Linked DNA regions of Homo sapiens: all the other regions are linked to region 1. Evidence: promoter capture Hi-C in human tissues and cell types (Jung and others, 2019). All regions are on one chromosome and are shown on one strand. Each heading gives the region's core, a stretch centred on a gene start or on the middle of the fragment in contact. The rest is flanking DNA. Distances are from core to core; before and after follow the strand shown. Region 1 holds the start of SLC38A1 (solute carrier family 38 member 1). Region 2 overlaps PCED1B (PC-esterase domain containing 1B). Region 3 has its middle 61 kb from the start of SLC38A4. Region 4 overlaps ARID2 (AT-rich interaction domain 2). Region 5 has its middle 5.6 kb from the start of LINC00938.

Evidence for each region. Contacts are between HindIII fragments. The study calls those that stand out against the background at their distance.
Region 2: a contact is called between a fragment that was not itself captured here and the fragment with the promoter of SLC38A1 in region 1, in 1 of the 25 tissues and cell types used here (IMR-90 fibroblasts).
Region 3: a contact is called between a fragment that was not itself captured here and the fragment with the promoter of SLC38A1 in region 1, in 1 of the 25 tissues and cell types used here (mesenchymal stem cells).
Region 4: a fragment that was not itself captured here is called in contact with the fragment with the promoter of SLC38A1 in region 1 in 1 of the 25 tissues and cell types used here (hippocampus).
Region 5: a fragment that was not itself captured here is called in contact with the fragment with the promoter of SLC38A1 in region 1 in 1 of the 25 tissues and cell types used here (lymphoblastoid cells).

What each region holds. Positions count from the first base shown.
Region 1 is chr12:46,267,407-46,270,292 of GRCh38, reverse strand. It overlaps SLC38A1 (solute carrier family 38 member 1), which reads left to right and starts at 1,250. Exons shown (of 17, transcript NM_030674.4): 1 at 1,250-1,767. It overlaps LOC105378248 (a long non-coding RNA gene), which reads right to left and starts at 1,222. Exons shown (of 2, transcript XR_001749101.1): 1 at 1,135-1,222. RefSeq lists silencers at 701-800, 881-1,060 and enhancers at 1,471-1,570, 1,621-1,670, 810-1,792, 1,791-1,850, 2,776-2,886. The HindIII fragment of the contact is 6,474 bases long and covers 1-2,886 here.
Region 2 is chr12:47,091,707-47,094,639 of GRCh38, reverse strand. The region is part of intron 1 of PCED1B (PC-esterase domain containing 1B); the gene reads right to left. Among named protein-coding and RNA genes, the nearest start is that of AMIGO2, 13 kb to the right of the region's middle. The HindIII fragment of the contact is 8,493 bases long and covers 1-2,933 here.
Region 3 is chr12:46,885,679-46,888,494 of GRCh38, reverse strand. No RefSeq gene overlaps it. Among named protein-coding and RNA genes, the nearest start is that of SLC38A4, 61 kb to the right of the region's middle. The HindIII fragment of the contact is 6,813 bases long and covers 1-2,816 here.
Region 4 is chr12:45,745,344-45,748,105 of GRCh38, reverse strand. All of the region lies in intron 3 of ARID2 (AT-rich interaction domain 2), which reads right to left. Among named protein-coding and RNA genes, the nearest start is that of ARID2, 17 kb to the right of the region's middle. The HindIII fragment of the contact is 3,797 bases long and covers 1-2,762 here.
Region 5 is chr12:45,720,889-45,723,696 of GRCh38, reverse strand. No RefSeq gene overlaps it. Among named protein-coding and RNA genes, the nearest start is that of LINC00938, 5.6 kb to the left of the region's middle. The HindIII fragment of the contact is 3,962 bases long and covers 1-2,808 here.

The sequences.
Region 1 (2,886 bases), core at 1-2,500:
TATCATCTTGCTTTTCCAGTGGTGATGAAAAAGCAAAATTCACCCAAATACAATGACTACTGTCTACTTGAAACGCTCCAGGTAGTTAATTTTTGAATTATGATTCACCTTCCCTTTCCTGTTTTGATGAACCATGAACAGGAGACTGAACCTTCCCTATCAATAAAAAGCTCGCGTTTCCACCCTGCAAATTCGCGCTATGACAGTCTAATTGGCTGAGGCGCAGGTGGGATTTCCTGTCGCCATTTTAAGACACAACTCCTCTGCAAGCAAGTGCCCAGCCAGTGAAAGGGGGCTGTGTCTGAAACAAAGAGTAAGCGGGAAAAAAGGGAACCAGGCCCAGTTGCCCCTGCTCCCCTCCATGCCGCTCCCTCGTCCCCCGGACTTGGAGCGCCCCAGCTCCGTTAACCTGGACGCACCAGGTCCTTCGGTCGGGACCACGTGGGGTCTCCAGGCCCTCCAAGAGCTGGCCCCCGGCTCTTTGCGCCTAGGCCGGTGCTTTCTCGGTGCTCAGCAAATCCTTCTGGTTCACCTCACACCCAGTCCCCAAAGCAGAGCTCCACAGGGCAGATCTCAGGAAGGGCTGACCAGGTCTGCGGGTGCTGGATCCGGAAGAGGGGAGGTGCCTCCCGCTTCAGGTTAGGGACAAAGGGTTTTTAAAGGTGCCCGAGCTCCCCGCCGCCCCTGCCACTTCGGTCCCCTTCCCGCCAACCCGGGCCATCTGCAGGCTGTGCCCAGGGCCAGCCCTCCGCTCCAACGCTGCCCGTAGTCCCAGGCGCTGCCCGCGGCTCTCCGGGCTGCGCTCGGACCTGCCACTCCCGCGGCCATCCTCATGCTGCGCCCTTCCCACAATGCAACTCCCTCGCTCCTTCGGCCCCGGCGGGGCTCTGGCGTACCCAAAATGCAGGCCCCAGCGGAACGCACAGCCCTCCTGTCCTCCGCCGGTGCCCCTTTAGCCGCCCCACCCCCATCCCTAAGGGCTCTCATTCTCCAGCTGCAGCCGCAGCTGGGTTCCGAACACGCCGCCGGGCCCCGGGAGGGAGAGGGGCAGGTGCCAGGGCGGCGCGCAGCCTCTGCTCCCGGTGCCAGCTTCAGTGCGCCGGGCACACGCGCGCCCCGCAACCCCTCCCTCACCCTTTCCCCGTTGCTCAATCTCCGCCAGCCGCGGTCGCTGCATCGTCAGAGAGCTGCAAGAGGGAGGCAGCAAGGTGCGGCCGCCAGCAGTGACACCATGTGACCGGCACGGCTCACTGACACGCAGCTTTGGTTAAAGAGCGGGCGCACAGGAGGGGAGGAGACCGCGCGCGGGACGGGGAGGAATGGCCTGTCCGCGTTAAACCATCACAAGCCATGGTTGCGGAAGGGCCACGCGTCCCCCAGTAGGAGAATGACTCCGATTCGTGACCCTCAGCGCCGGTGCATGTCGATGTAAGTGCGAGGCCGGCGAGCAGAGTGTGAGTGGGGGTTGGTGGTGAGGGGAGATTCTGATGCAATCGGCCCGGAAAGGAGGAGAGCCAGGCGAGCGCGGACTGGGGCGGCCACGCCACTCCGCCAGAAGGTCGCCAGGAGCCTCCGCCCTTCACCTTCCTCCGAAATCCGCCAGGCCACGCCAAGCTCCCTGCCCAACCCTTACTGACGGGGGCCACATTTTCCCGGCCTCCGCAGCCAGACCTTGACACAAAGGACATCAAACTGCCGAGGGTAAAAACCCCGGAAGGGCGGACACCTCCACATCGCCTTTTGCCACCTTTCCCTTTATTTCCGGAGGTAAGGTGATTATCCGTTCCCGGGGAGGGCTGGGCGAGCGGCAAGGGGAGATTTAGATGTCGGAGGAGGAGGTAACGTAGAAATCATCTCTGCGGGCGTGAAAGCAGAGAGAGCTCGGCTGTGCCCGATGCTTTCGGATGTTGCTTTTAGGAGAGGAAAAGTCCAGGTCTCCTGTGCTTCCCGAACGCACGCGGCAGCGGGAGGAAGCGCCAGGGCCCCCGAGTTCACCTTTGCGTGGGCTGTGGCTTACTTTTTGGTTTGTTTTCCTGTGACTTTGGTGTGTTTTCCTGTGGCTGTGGCAGAGTGTGGTACCAGATCTGGTTCCATTTTTACGAGAGCCAGGAACCACGCACGTCTGGAGGGAGAGCGCAGCTGACCCGAGGGCGCGACCGTGTTCTGGGAGTGTTTGAATCCCCGGCCTTTGGTGAAAATTTCCTGTGTCCGCAAGGCCCAGAGGAGATCGTGTGATGTCCGGGGGGTGCTGCGTGCGGCCGGCTGGGTAGCGGCCGCGGACCACCACTAAACCGGGGCATGTTTGCCGTCCTTCCTGGTGCTCTGCCCCTCTGTAACGCGGGGAAGTAGGAGGGCGCGGGGAGAAATTACTAAAGGATGCTTGCAGTGACTCACTGTCCTTTCCTGCCCTGAAGAGGATTTTCTAAAATGCAGAGGGTGGCAGGGGACAGAGGTAGTGTTTTTTCGAGAGCCGGGATGTGCTGGAGCCAGCGAACAAAAGGCCACCTCTTGCGCGGTCTTGGGCGCAGACTGCTCTCGCTTCCAGTCCCACCTCCTCCCCAACCCCCGGCACCTAGTTCGCGTCCCTAAACGTTGCCGCAGAGGCCTTTAAACGCGTGGGTCGGTGCCGGGAGGAGAGCGCATCTTCGCCCTTGTGCGAGCCCCTTGCCCCCTAAATTATCCACCTCCTGGCGCATGGGGCTCCCCAGCACCCACTGGGACCCAGTAGGTTACCCGGCTGCCTGGGCACCGTTTGCCTGCCAAATCGCCCGCCTGAGGTTTGTGCTGAACTGTAGTTAGAGAAGGCACAAGTGCATATGGCAGCAAAAGGAATTTCGCGGTACCCGCGTCACGCCGCTCCCAGTGCCTTTCACAGGCTGCCTTGGG
Region 2 (2,933 bases), core at 1-2,500, 820 kb before region 1:
AATTCTGTAATAAATCAAGGATATATATTGCAATCTCTAGGATAGTTACTATTAGAATTAAAGAAGTAAAACTTGCAAGTTTTTAGAATGAAATCCTTGAATAATTAAAAAAATAGAGGAAAGAGAGGGCGAAAAAAAGAACATAAAATGACAACAAAAGGAATATAAAAGAAAAGAGCACAATAGAAAATGAAAAATAAGATGGTAGCTATAAGCCCAATGATGTCAGTGATTACACTGAATGTAAATAAGCTAAATTTGAAGTAAAATACTGTCAGATTAGATAAAAAACAAACCCAAATCTTCAAATCTAATAAAAAGAAATGTTTAATGTGAAAGGAAAGCCAAATATACCATGCAAACACAAACCTGCCCCTGCTCCTAAAGCTGTCTAGCTATACTAATATCAGACAATGTGAACTGTAAGGCAAGAAACATTATTAGAGATAAAGTGAGACAGTTCATAATTATAAATAAATAAGTCCAATAGGAAATGAGCACAATCCTAAATCTCTGTGCACCTAATAATATAGCTTCAAAATAAACTAAACAAAAATGGACAGAACAATGAGAAAAAAATGTACAAATCAGCACTCACAGTGGGAGGCATTAGTGCATCTCTTTCAAACACATAGCAGAAAAAGTGAAAAATAAAAAAATCAGTAAGGATATAGAAGATATAAACAGCACAGTTAACATATGTAATCTAATGTCATGTATGCAAAATGGTACCTAATGACCACTTCATATTCACTTCAAGTATACAAAGAACATAAGAACATTTATTACAATCAATATATCATAACAAGAAAAAAGTCTCAACAATTTCAAAATATTGACATCTTTCAGAATGTCTTCTCTGACCACAGTGGAAGTTAAGCTAAAGATCAATAACAACAACAGGAAAAACCCAAGTGCTCAAAATTAAACAATATACTCTAAATAATCCATGGGATAAAGAAAAAAAACAGAAATTAGTTCTTAAACTTAAATAATAAAAATCACATTTGAAAAATCATGTGAAAAAACTAAAATGGTGCTTAGAAGGAAATATATAGTCTTATATTCCATATTAGAAAGGAAAAAGCCTGAAAATCAATGATTTAAGTGTTAATTTCAAGAAAGTAGAGAGAGAGCAGGAATCAAACTTACAAAAAGAAATGATAAAGATAAAAGCAAAAACCAAGGAACATATAAGAAAGACAATAAAGCCAAAGTCAGTTGTTTAAAAACATCAAAATCTAAAGAAGACTGATCAAAAGAAAAAAAAATAGACAAAACAAATTCGCAACAACAGCAATGAAAAAGGAGATATCACTATAGATCATACAAGCATCAAAAGGACAATAAAAGGAAACTTAAAACAAATTTATGCTGATAAATTTGACAATTTGGATGAAATAAACAAACTCTTTGAAAATACAATTTACCAAGACTGACAGGAGAAGAGATGAAAATATCAATAATTTAGGATGTATTTTTTTTTAAAATTAAGCCCATTATTTTAAAAAAGAAAAGCCTGGGCTCAGATAGTTTATCAGTGAATTCTTCCAAACACTTAAGGAAAAATTAACAGCTGTCTTGTATAATTCTTCCAGAACACAGAAAGAGAAGGTGAGCTTTCCAGACTTAAAAAAAATTGTAATAGCATAAACTTGATTTTTAAACCCTGACAAGATTGTGAGAAAGAAAACTGCAAGCCCATCTTTCTCATAAACATTACTTAAAAATTCTTAACAAAATATTAGGAAGCCAAATCCATTGATACAGTAAATGGAGTGCAAGTTCAGTCCAAGTGTACAAGTGTGGCTTACCATTCAAAAATCATAAACATAATTCACCACATTAACAGAAAAAGGAGTAAAATCATACAATCATCTCAAATGCAGAAAAAGCATTTGATAAATTCAACATCCATTTGTGATGAAAACACGTAATCAATTAAGAACAGAACTTTCTTAATCTCATAAAGAATATCTACAAAATATCCGTAGCAAACATCATTCTCAATGGTAGTATGTTGAAAACTTCCCCCTAAGACTGGAACTGGGTCAAGAATGACCACTGTCATCATTTCAGTCTAACATTGTAGAAGGAGGTCTAGCCAATGCAAAAGGTCAGAGAAAGAAATAAATGTCATGGAGATTGGAAAGCAAGAAATAAAATTGTCATTTCCAGACAATAAGATCATGCACATTCAAAATTTCTAGAGAATCTAAGGACAAATTCTTAGAATTAATAAGAGAATATAGGAAGGGAACCGGATATACAGTCAACATATAAAAACTAGTTGCATTTGTATATATTGGCAATAAACAAATAGAAAATAAAACATATTTACAATAGCATCAAAAAACTCAAACACCTAGAAATAAATCTAATTAAAGATGTGCAAGATCTCTAACTGAAAACTAAAATATTATTGAGAAAAATTAAAGGAGAGCTAAATAAATGGAAGTATATGCATCATTATAATTGGAAGACTCAATATTGTAAAGATGTTAGTTCTCTCCAAATTAATACATTCATCTATGCAATTTTGGTCAAAATCTAAGCTACAGGTTCTTCTTTTTCCAGAAATTGACAAGTTTTCCTAAAATTCATATCAAATGTAAAAGTTGGAAATCATCAAGTTATTCTTGAAGAATAAATATACAGGACTTACACTGTGAGATATCAGAAACTATTATTATAAAGTTATGACAATCAAAACTGTGTGGTACTAGTGCAAGAACAGATAACTGTCCAATGAAACACAACAGGGAATCCAGAAGTAGACCTGCACATATATGGTGGCATGATTTATGATAAAGGTGATCCTGCAATGCAGTAGGGAAAAGGATAATCTTTCAGATAAATTGTGCTGTGTCAATTCAACATTCAAGTGGAAAAAAAGGTATTCTAATGTTTATTTCACATTACACACAAGAGTC
Region 3 (2,816 bases), core at 191-2,690, 620 kb before region 1:
AGCTCTACTTATAGTCATTTGCATGTGTGTATGTGTGAGTGTGTATACTTGTGAATATATGTGTGAGTGTATTAAGTGCTATACAGGCTTATCACCTGTGGTTTCACATACCCACCACCAGTCAACTTTCAATACTGCAAGAATCCTTCGGTTTGTCCACTTACAAGTATACCTACCTCCCTCCTGCACAGCCCCCACCTTCTTCATCCCTAACTCCTGGCAACAACTAATCTGTTTTTCATTTCAAGAACTTTGTCATTTCAAAAATGTCACATAAATGGAATCATACAGTATGCAACCTTTTGGGACTGGCTTTTTCAGTCAGCATTATTCCCTAGAGATGGATCCAAGCTGTGTACATCAATAGTTTGCTCCTTTTTATTGTGGAGAAGTATTCTGTGGTATGTACCACAGTTTGTTCAACCATTCCTGTTGAAGGGCATCTAGATTTATTTTGATTTTTGGCTTATAAATAATGTTGCTGTGAACATTCCTGTACAGTTTTTTTTTTTTTTGGTGTGTGAATGTATGTTTTCATTTCTCTGGGGGTAAATATCCAAGAATGCAATTACTAAGTGTTATGTAGTTGCATATTTAGCTTTATAAGAAACTACCAAGCTGTTTTTCAGAGTAGCTCTACCATTTACATTCCACAGTAAAGTATGGATGATCCAGTTTCTCCATGTCCTTACCAGCATTTGGTGTTGTTACTCTTTTAGCCATTCTGATAGGTATGTAGTGATATCTCCTTGTGGGCTTAATTTATGTTTCCTTGACGGATAAAGATATTGAACATCTTTTCATGTGCATATTTGCCATCTATAATCCTCCTCTGTGAAATAGCTGTTCACATCTTTTGTCCATTTTCTAATTGAATTTTTTTTGTTGTTTTTACTGTTAAGTTTTGAGAGTTTATTATATATTCCACATACTGATCCTTTGTTGGGTATGAGGTTTGCAAATATTTTCTCACACTCCATAGCTTGTCTTTTCATCCCCTGCACATGAACTTTCACAGAGCAAAATCCTATTTGTCAAGTTTTTTCTTTTATTAACAAAATTATTCATAGTGACTTTTCAGTGTAAATATAATGTAAATAACACCATGAGCTTTTAGAACACCTTTATAGAGTGGTCTTTTAAAACACAAATCTAATTATGTTGCTTTCCTATCTCAAACTTTTCAATGGTTTCCCCCTGCCCTTAGGAAAAGCTTAGGTAGAAATCCATAACATGGATGAGCCTTCCACTACAGCTGCTGCTCCTCCTTGTGCCCTCTGCACTTCAGCCAGATGGGAACATCTCTCTTCAATCCTGGGACCATTTTCTTCTATCCATTTCTCCCTGTACAGATTCTTTCAGATTTAGCTGCTTTGCTATGGTTCTCCTGTGTATTCCATAGCACTGACATCTACACTCTGGAAGCATTTGCTGCAGGCAATTGCAAGTGCCCATTTTTCTGCCTCCCCCATTCTCTAAGCTCCTTGAAGTCAATAACTATTCATTTCCATCATTCCATTGCTGTCAAAATGCCCAACACACAGGAAGCCCAGACCTAAGTGACTAACTCTGGAGATGTGCAGCCCTCCTCACAGCACCACAAGAAAAGAAAACAAAATCTAAAGAAAATATTAGCTCCCAAACTGACATCATCCACACCCTCTCTGATCAACCTTCAAAACATTCTGTAACTATAAAGTGGCCTTTATTATTGAGCCCTTGTGTGGCATCGTATTTTAGCAAAGTTTTGTACAATTAGCTCATCAATTGTTTCTCAAAACCCTTGGTGAGAAATGTTTACCCTCTCTTAGAGATGAGGGAATCGAGCCCAGATAGACCAGAAAACCACATCTAAAGTCCTATGGCAAATCATTAGCCCTCACCACACAGTGGTTTTGTCTCCTTGGCTTTGACTGGGATGTGCAATTGCTCACAGCATTGTAGAAATCCACAAAGCCTGGGGAACACACAGAAGGGGTTATTCAATTCAACATTCTCTTTTGGACCATTCAGAAAAGTCAAATGTTGATCATTTTAAATGTCTGTTGAATGTATGAATTGAACAAATACATTTTTATTTTTCTTTCTGTGAAACTAATCATTCCTGTTTAAAAAGGTACGCTCTTTATGAGTCCTGCTTATCTCTAGCTTACTGGATAGTTTCTGGTTTATGGAATAGACTCTAAAAAATTAGTAGAATCATTTATACAGCTTCTATAATATTGTAAGCAGAAAAATATCTTCACAAATGTCACTAGTTATTTCCTTTAATTTTTGCACAAGTTGATCTGTATATCTTCTTCATTAGCTGAGAGGTATTAAACATGACCATTGCAATCCACTCACACTGTCAGATCAACTTGAGCTCTCTGTACCAGGCCCTTACAAAAGGAAGAAGGGCCTACTGAAAGGGAACAGTGAACAATAAAGAAAACTTAGAAAGAAGACCAAGCAGCTACCATCTCCCCTACCTAACCTCCTTTTTAACTCTAAGGTAGTATATTCTCAGAATCCACAGTCTCCCTTGACATGGCTGTGGCTGGGACAACTGTAGGATTAGAGCATCTTCTTGCAACAAGGCTTGACTGATGCTAAATCTTCACTCCTGCCCTTTTGTCCAGAGAGAGGTGAACAGGGAATAAGGCAGCCTCAAAGCATCATCTGAAGCAGCAAGCTAGATCCAACGGCAACCCCAACCTGTCCAGGGCTCAGGTCTCACCGCATATGCATTCATCAGAGTAGGACCTCCTCATTAGTGGTGTATCTGCCCCAGGACTATTGCATTAGGAGCAGAAGTTTACTTCCCATAGGATTAT
Region 4 (2,762 bases), core at 141-2,640, 520 kb after region 1:
CAGGCGTTGAGCCACCACACCTGGCCGTACATTGTTATTTGAGACATAATGCTACTGAACAATTAATATACTACAGTATAATATAAACATAACTTGTCTGTGCACTGGGAAACCAAAAAATTCACTCTCATTTTACTATCATATATATTAATGTGGTGGTCTGGAATCAAACCCACAGCATCTCTCAGGCATGTCTGTATTACTCTCTCAAATCTTACCCTACACAAGACTCTCTAGTCTCATATTGTAGCTTGTGAAGACAGATAGGGAGACATTAGTGTCTATTTTACTTAAAAACAACTTCAAGTACTGCATAGAATTGCACAAAATGACACATTTACCACAATGTTAATTAATATTCTACAACTACAACTGACTCTTGATGCTTGTTTAATAAAACCACACAAAAAAATGTTAAGCTTTAGGGACAGACGAATGAAATGCTATACTATTAATTCTGTAAGTTAGAAATTTTCAATTCTTTCAGAATTTCCCAAATTAGATTTCCCACTTGCTGAGAGGCCTACCATACCCACCTGAGTTCATAAGAAGCTCCCCAAGTGACAGGAGATCCTAATTCAGTTCAGCTACAATGTATCAGATGCCAAAAAGTGCATTGCCATTAAAAAAAAAAAATCCTTGACCCCAAGACTCTGATAGTAAACTAGGAGCAGTACACTATAACTCACAAAACTAAACTCTAATTCTGCACTAGCAATGGTACTTACAGGCTTTTTCCCTGATCTACAAGAGGATAATACCTATTTCCTAGAGTTGTTGCAAAAATCCACTGAGATAAATATTTGTAAAAATAAACTATAAACTGTACAGCAACACACACGTTATTACAAAAAGATACATTAAAGAATTTTTTAAATAAAAATAAAAAGCCACAATCCCACAACTACCCTAACCATTTTCATATTTTTATTCCCTTGAAGTCCTTATCTTCAAATACTTTTTAATAAAATTATATTCATGTGAATTGGGGGAAGACAGTATAATATGCCTAGATTCCAGGTTTAAATACTAGGTCCAGCCGGGCACGGTGGCTCACGCCTGTAATCCCAACACTTTGGGAGGCTGAGGCGGGCGGATCACAAGGTCAGGAGTTCGAGAACATCCTGGCTAACACGGTGAAACCCCATCTCTACCTAAAATACAAAGAAAAATTAGCTGGGCATGGTGGCGAGCGCCTGTAGTCCCAGCTACTCGGGAGGCTGAGGCAGGAGAATGGCGTGAACCCGGAAGGCGGAGCTTGCAGTGAGCCTCGATCGCGCCACTGCACTCCAGCCTGGGTGACAGAGCGAGACTCCGTCTCAAAAAAAAAATACTAGATCCAGAACTTACTGTGTGAACCTGGGCAAGGTTCTTAAACACCTTTGTCCTGTTTTCTCATCTATAATACCAGGATATTAACAGTATCTATGTCATAGGGAGGTGTGAAGAGAAAATGAGTTACCACTTGGTGCAGTGCCCGGCACATGGCAAATTAAATAAATGTTAGCTAAAAAAATATAAACTTAATAGTCTGCTTTTTAAAAGATTCAACATGGTATCATAAACCAAAAGTATACTATTAAAGTTTCATAAGAAAAATACTTAAAAAAAAAACTTTAGCATATGTTACATTGACTGTTTTTAAAACATATCTCCCTACCATCCCTTTGTCTAGATATTTACAGTAATAGAATCAGGCTGGGTGGGTGGCTCAGGTCTGCAATCCCAACACTTTGGGAGGCCAAGCCAGGAGGATCACTTGAGGCCAGGAGTTGGAAACCATCCTGGGCAACACAGAAAGCCCTGGTCTCTACAAAATCTTTACACATCAGCCAGGTATGGTGGCACACACCTGTAGTCCTAGTTACTAGGGAGGCTGAAGTAGGAGGATCTCTTAAGCCAAGAAGGTTGAGGCTGCAGTGAACCATGATTGCACCACTACTCTTCATTCTCCAGCCTGGGTGGCAGAGCAAGATCCTGTCTCCAAAGGAAAAAAAAAAAAAAATCAAACCAGAATCTATCTATTACTTCATACTTCCAGTAGAGGTCTCCATCTAAAAAATTATGTACTAGACTAACCTTTAAATGAGTATCCTTGGTTATTTAAAAAAAAAAACAACTATCAAATATATAAGCTTTATCAAATATGTAAGTTTAGGTTTTTACGAGTAAAATATTTAATATAAAGAATATTTGCAGTAAAAAGTGTTTTTTCTCTCTTAGTATAAGTCAGCAGAATCATCTTAACATAAAACCAGGCCAGGCGCAGTGGCTCATGCCTGTAATCCCAGCACTTTGGGAGGCCAAGGCGGGCAGATCACTTGAGGCCAGGAGTTCGAGAACAGCCTGGCCAAATGACGAAACCCTGTCTCTACTAAACGTACAAAAAAATTAGCCAGGCATGTTGTTGTGTGCCTGTAGTCCCACCTACTCAGGAGACTGAAACATGAGAATCACTTGAACCCAGGAGGTGGAGGTTGCAGTGAGCCGAGATTGCGCCACTGCATTCTAGCCTGGGTGACATAGTGAGACTTTGTCTCAAAAATAATAATAATAAATAAAGGCCCCGTTTTATATAGCAAAGAAATCTCTGATAGTCTTCTAAAATTATTCCTTTTAAAACAGAATGGAGTGGTTAGTGTAATAAATGCAGATCTGATTTGGTTTCTACTTTTCCCTTCCATCATTCAGTAGTAATAATCTTAGGCAAGTCAATTATCCCCACGCAGGCCTACCTGGAAAAGTATCCTTATTTCTACCCT
Region 5 (2,808 bases), core at 226-2,725, 550 kb after region 1:
GTTGGCAAAACAATAAAATAGGAATTAAGCTGAAATGTAAAATTGTGTAATAATTAGGTTTCATTAAAGTATATATAGTTTCCTTAATAACTACATGAGTCAGTAGTGTTGACTTAATAATAAGTTATTTAGCTTTTGCTTTTCTCTGAAAACATATCAAACTCTTCATATATAGCATCGAAATAGATATTCAACCTGAGCCACTGTAAATTGTTGAAGCTTATTGCTATACATTAAGGGAAATTCTATCCAACAGTTCAGTGTAAACAATTTTTTAAAGGTGCTATGATTCTTTAACATGATTTGTAGTATGTAGAACTCAAGTATTCTAGAATAATCTTTGCATGATAATGTATGAGAAACATTTATAAACAGTCCTTCAGGTGTACAAAATAACTGACATAATATTTTGCATTTAACTACACTGCCTCCAAGTATTTTAAACAAAGATGAAATTTTTAGAGTATTGTGCTATATTTTTATAACTGAATTTCCCTCTTATTAACAATACTCATAACATTTAGCCATTAATGATTACTGATAGCTTAAATAAGAGTGTAGTTTCTGTTTCTAATGTCTATTAATTTTAACCCCATTTAAAGATATTTCCTACTTATCATACTCAAAGTTAATCAGAAGTTAAATAAATGATGGTCCTTCTGGTTCTCTGGAAACTGAAAAGAAGCTTCTGTTTCTTTAGGGTATGCAGGAATTTTTTTTCTTCCCAGTGAGCTGAATCCATCCTTTACGCTGCTATTTGCTAACCTCAGTTGTTTTTCTGCTCCATTAAAGTTGAGGCCACCAAAAATAGTAGTAATATCACAACTACAAAACCCTGGGTGGATTTGTACCCATTGCACATACACTTCTTGCTGCCAATTCCTAAGAGACTTTTGAAATAATAGTATATTCCCAGCTGGACAATATATTCTACTTGTGGCCTATGTATAGTGTTCAACAAGTCCAGGAGCCCTATGAAACGGAATGTGTTTACTGCATTTTTCTAGGGAGAAGTTCTCAGCAGGCACGGGCATCTTAAAGACCCTGTGATGCCCAAAAGGTTAAAGCTCTATTTGCTAATGACAGATAGTAAGTTTGGAGGATTGCTTCAGGTGCAGCATTTTATTTTGTGGGTTGTTGGCCTGTAGGGAAAAACATTTTGAAATTGTAGTTAAGGAATACCACTTCAGTTCATCAAATTAAAAAAATTATGGCAAATAAGCAAAAATCTATTTCTAAAGAACTACATACAATATATTCTTACAGAAAATTTTAGATTAAATGCATGTAACTGTTTTTTTGGTTTGCCATGTATTGAAAATGGATGGATGGGGGATTACATTAGTTGATGTATTTATTTATTTATTTTTGAGGCGGAGTCTCACTCTGTTGCCCAGGCTGGGGTGCAGTAGCGCAGTCTCGGCTCGCAACCTCTGCACCCTAGGCTCAAGCAACACTCGCACCTCCACCTCCTGAATAGCTAGGACTACAGGTGCACGCACCATACCACACCTGGCTAATTTTTGTATTTTTTTATAGAGACAGGGGTCTTGCTATGCTGCCCAGGCTGGTCTTAAACTCCTGAGCTCAAGCAATCTGCATGCCCAAGCCATTGGCCCATCTTGGCCTTCTAAAGTGCTGGGATTACAGGCGTGAGTCACCATGGTCAGCCCATATTAATTTAAAGTAGGCTTCAAATATAATTATTCACTAATTGGGAATGCCTGGGGATGTATATGAATGTATTACCGTTTTGTGAGTAGTAGTGTGTGCTTGTGTTCATGGATGGCATTCATCAGAATGTTTGCAATGGTGTAGCCAGGTTACACTGCCATCTTCCTGTTCTCCTTTGTGCTTACTTGCTCTGCCTGTATTTGCTGCAGTTTCTAGCGAGTGTATGTAGGTGTTGGCCCAGAACTTGCTTTTGTAGAGATCATACATTGTGCTAATTTATCCCAAATCAGTTTTTGTGTATTATCTGTGGGCCCAATGTGTAATTTGAACTTTAAGGATACTACTTCAGACTGCAGTGTAGCATAACCTTTAAAAAAAAAAATGCTAGTTTTGCCCTAATCTGTGCATATTCCAGTTGTTCAATGGGTATTAGTAATACATGAATTACTTCTGTGCCCTTTTTGGTGTAGAGTCTCATATGAATAATTACTGTTATTTAAAACCCACGACTCCATGCATTGTTTTGGTGGGAGAGGGTAGTTTCCCATCATGTTTTACATATATGTTAGCATTCAGATTTTCCTTTTTAGCCCACTCCCTACTGAACTGAAGGGAAAGGGCGTATTTGAGAGAAAACATATGCTTTACTCAGGTTCCAATAATTAAGCCAATGCACTTGATTTAAGTTATACATTTAGCTCATTCTTAAAGTGTAATAAAGACTTTAAGCCTCCTGGCTCCCAAATCAGTGCTTTTTCTACTAAACATTCTTTCTGTCTTGCTAAAAAAATCCAATTTTCAGAATCAAGTTAGTTGCTAAGCAAATATGCATAAAACCATACATTTATCTGAATTGTTTCTAATTTAAGGAGTAGTATATAAAAGTTTCAACAGAAATCATTGATTAGTAAAAGTGATGGAAAATCAGCAAAATAAAAATAGAATTAGAGTAGGCTAAAAGGCCCTTCTTTAGGGTAATCGGAAAACTGAGTTCAAATATAGGGTCTGGGACTTCTCAGGTGATATTTTATCTTAAATTAGAATCTGCATGAGGTAGGGTGGGGCCACTCATGCCTATAATCTCAGCACTTTGAGAGGCCGAGGCAGGAGCGTCCCTTGAGACCAGGAGTTCGA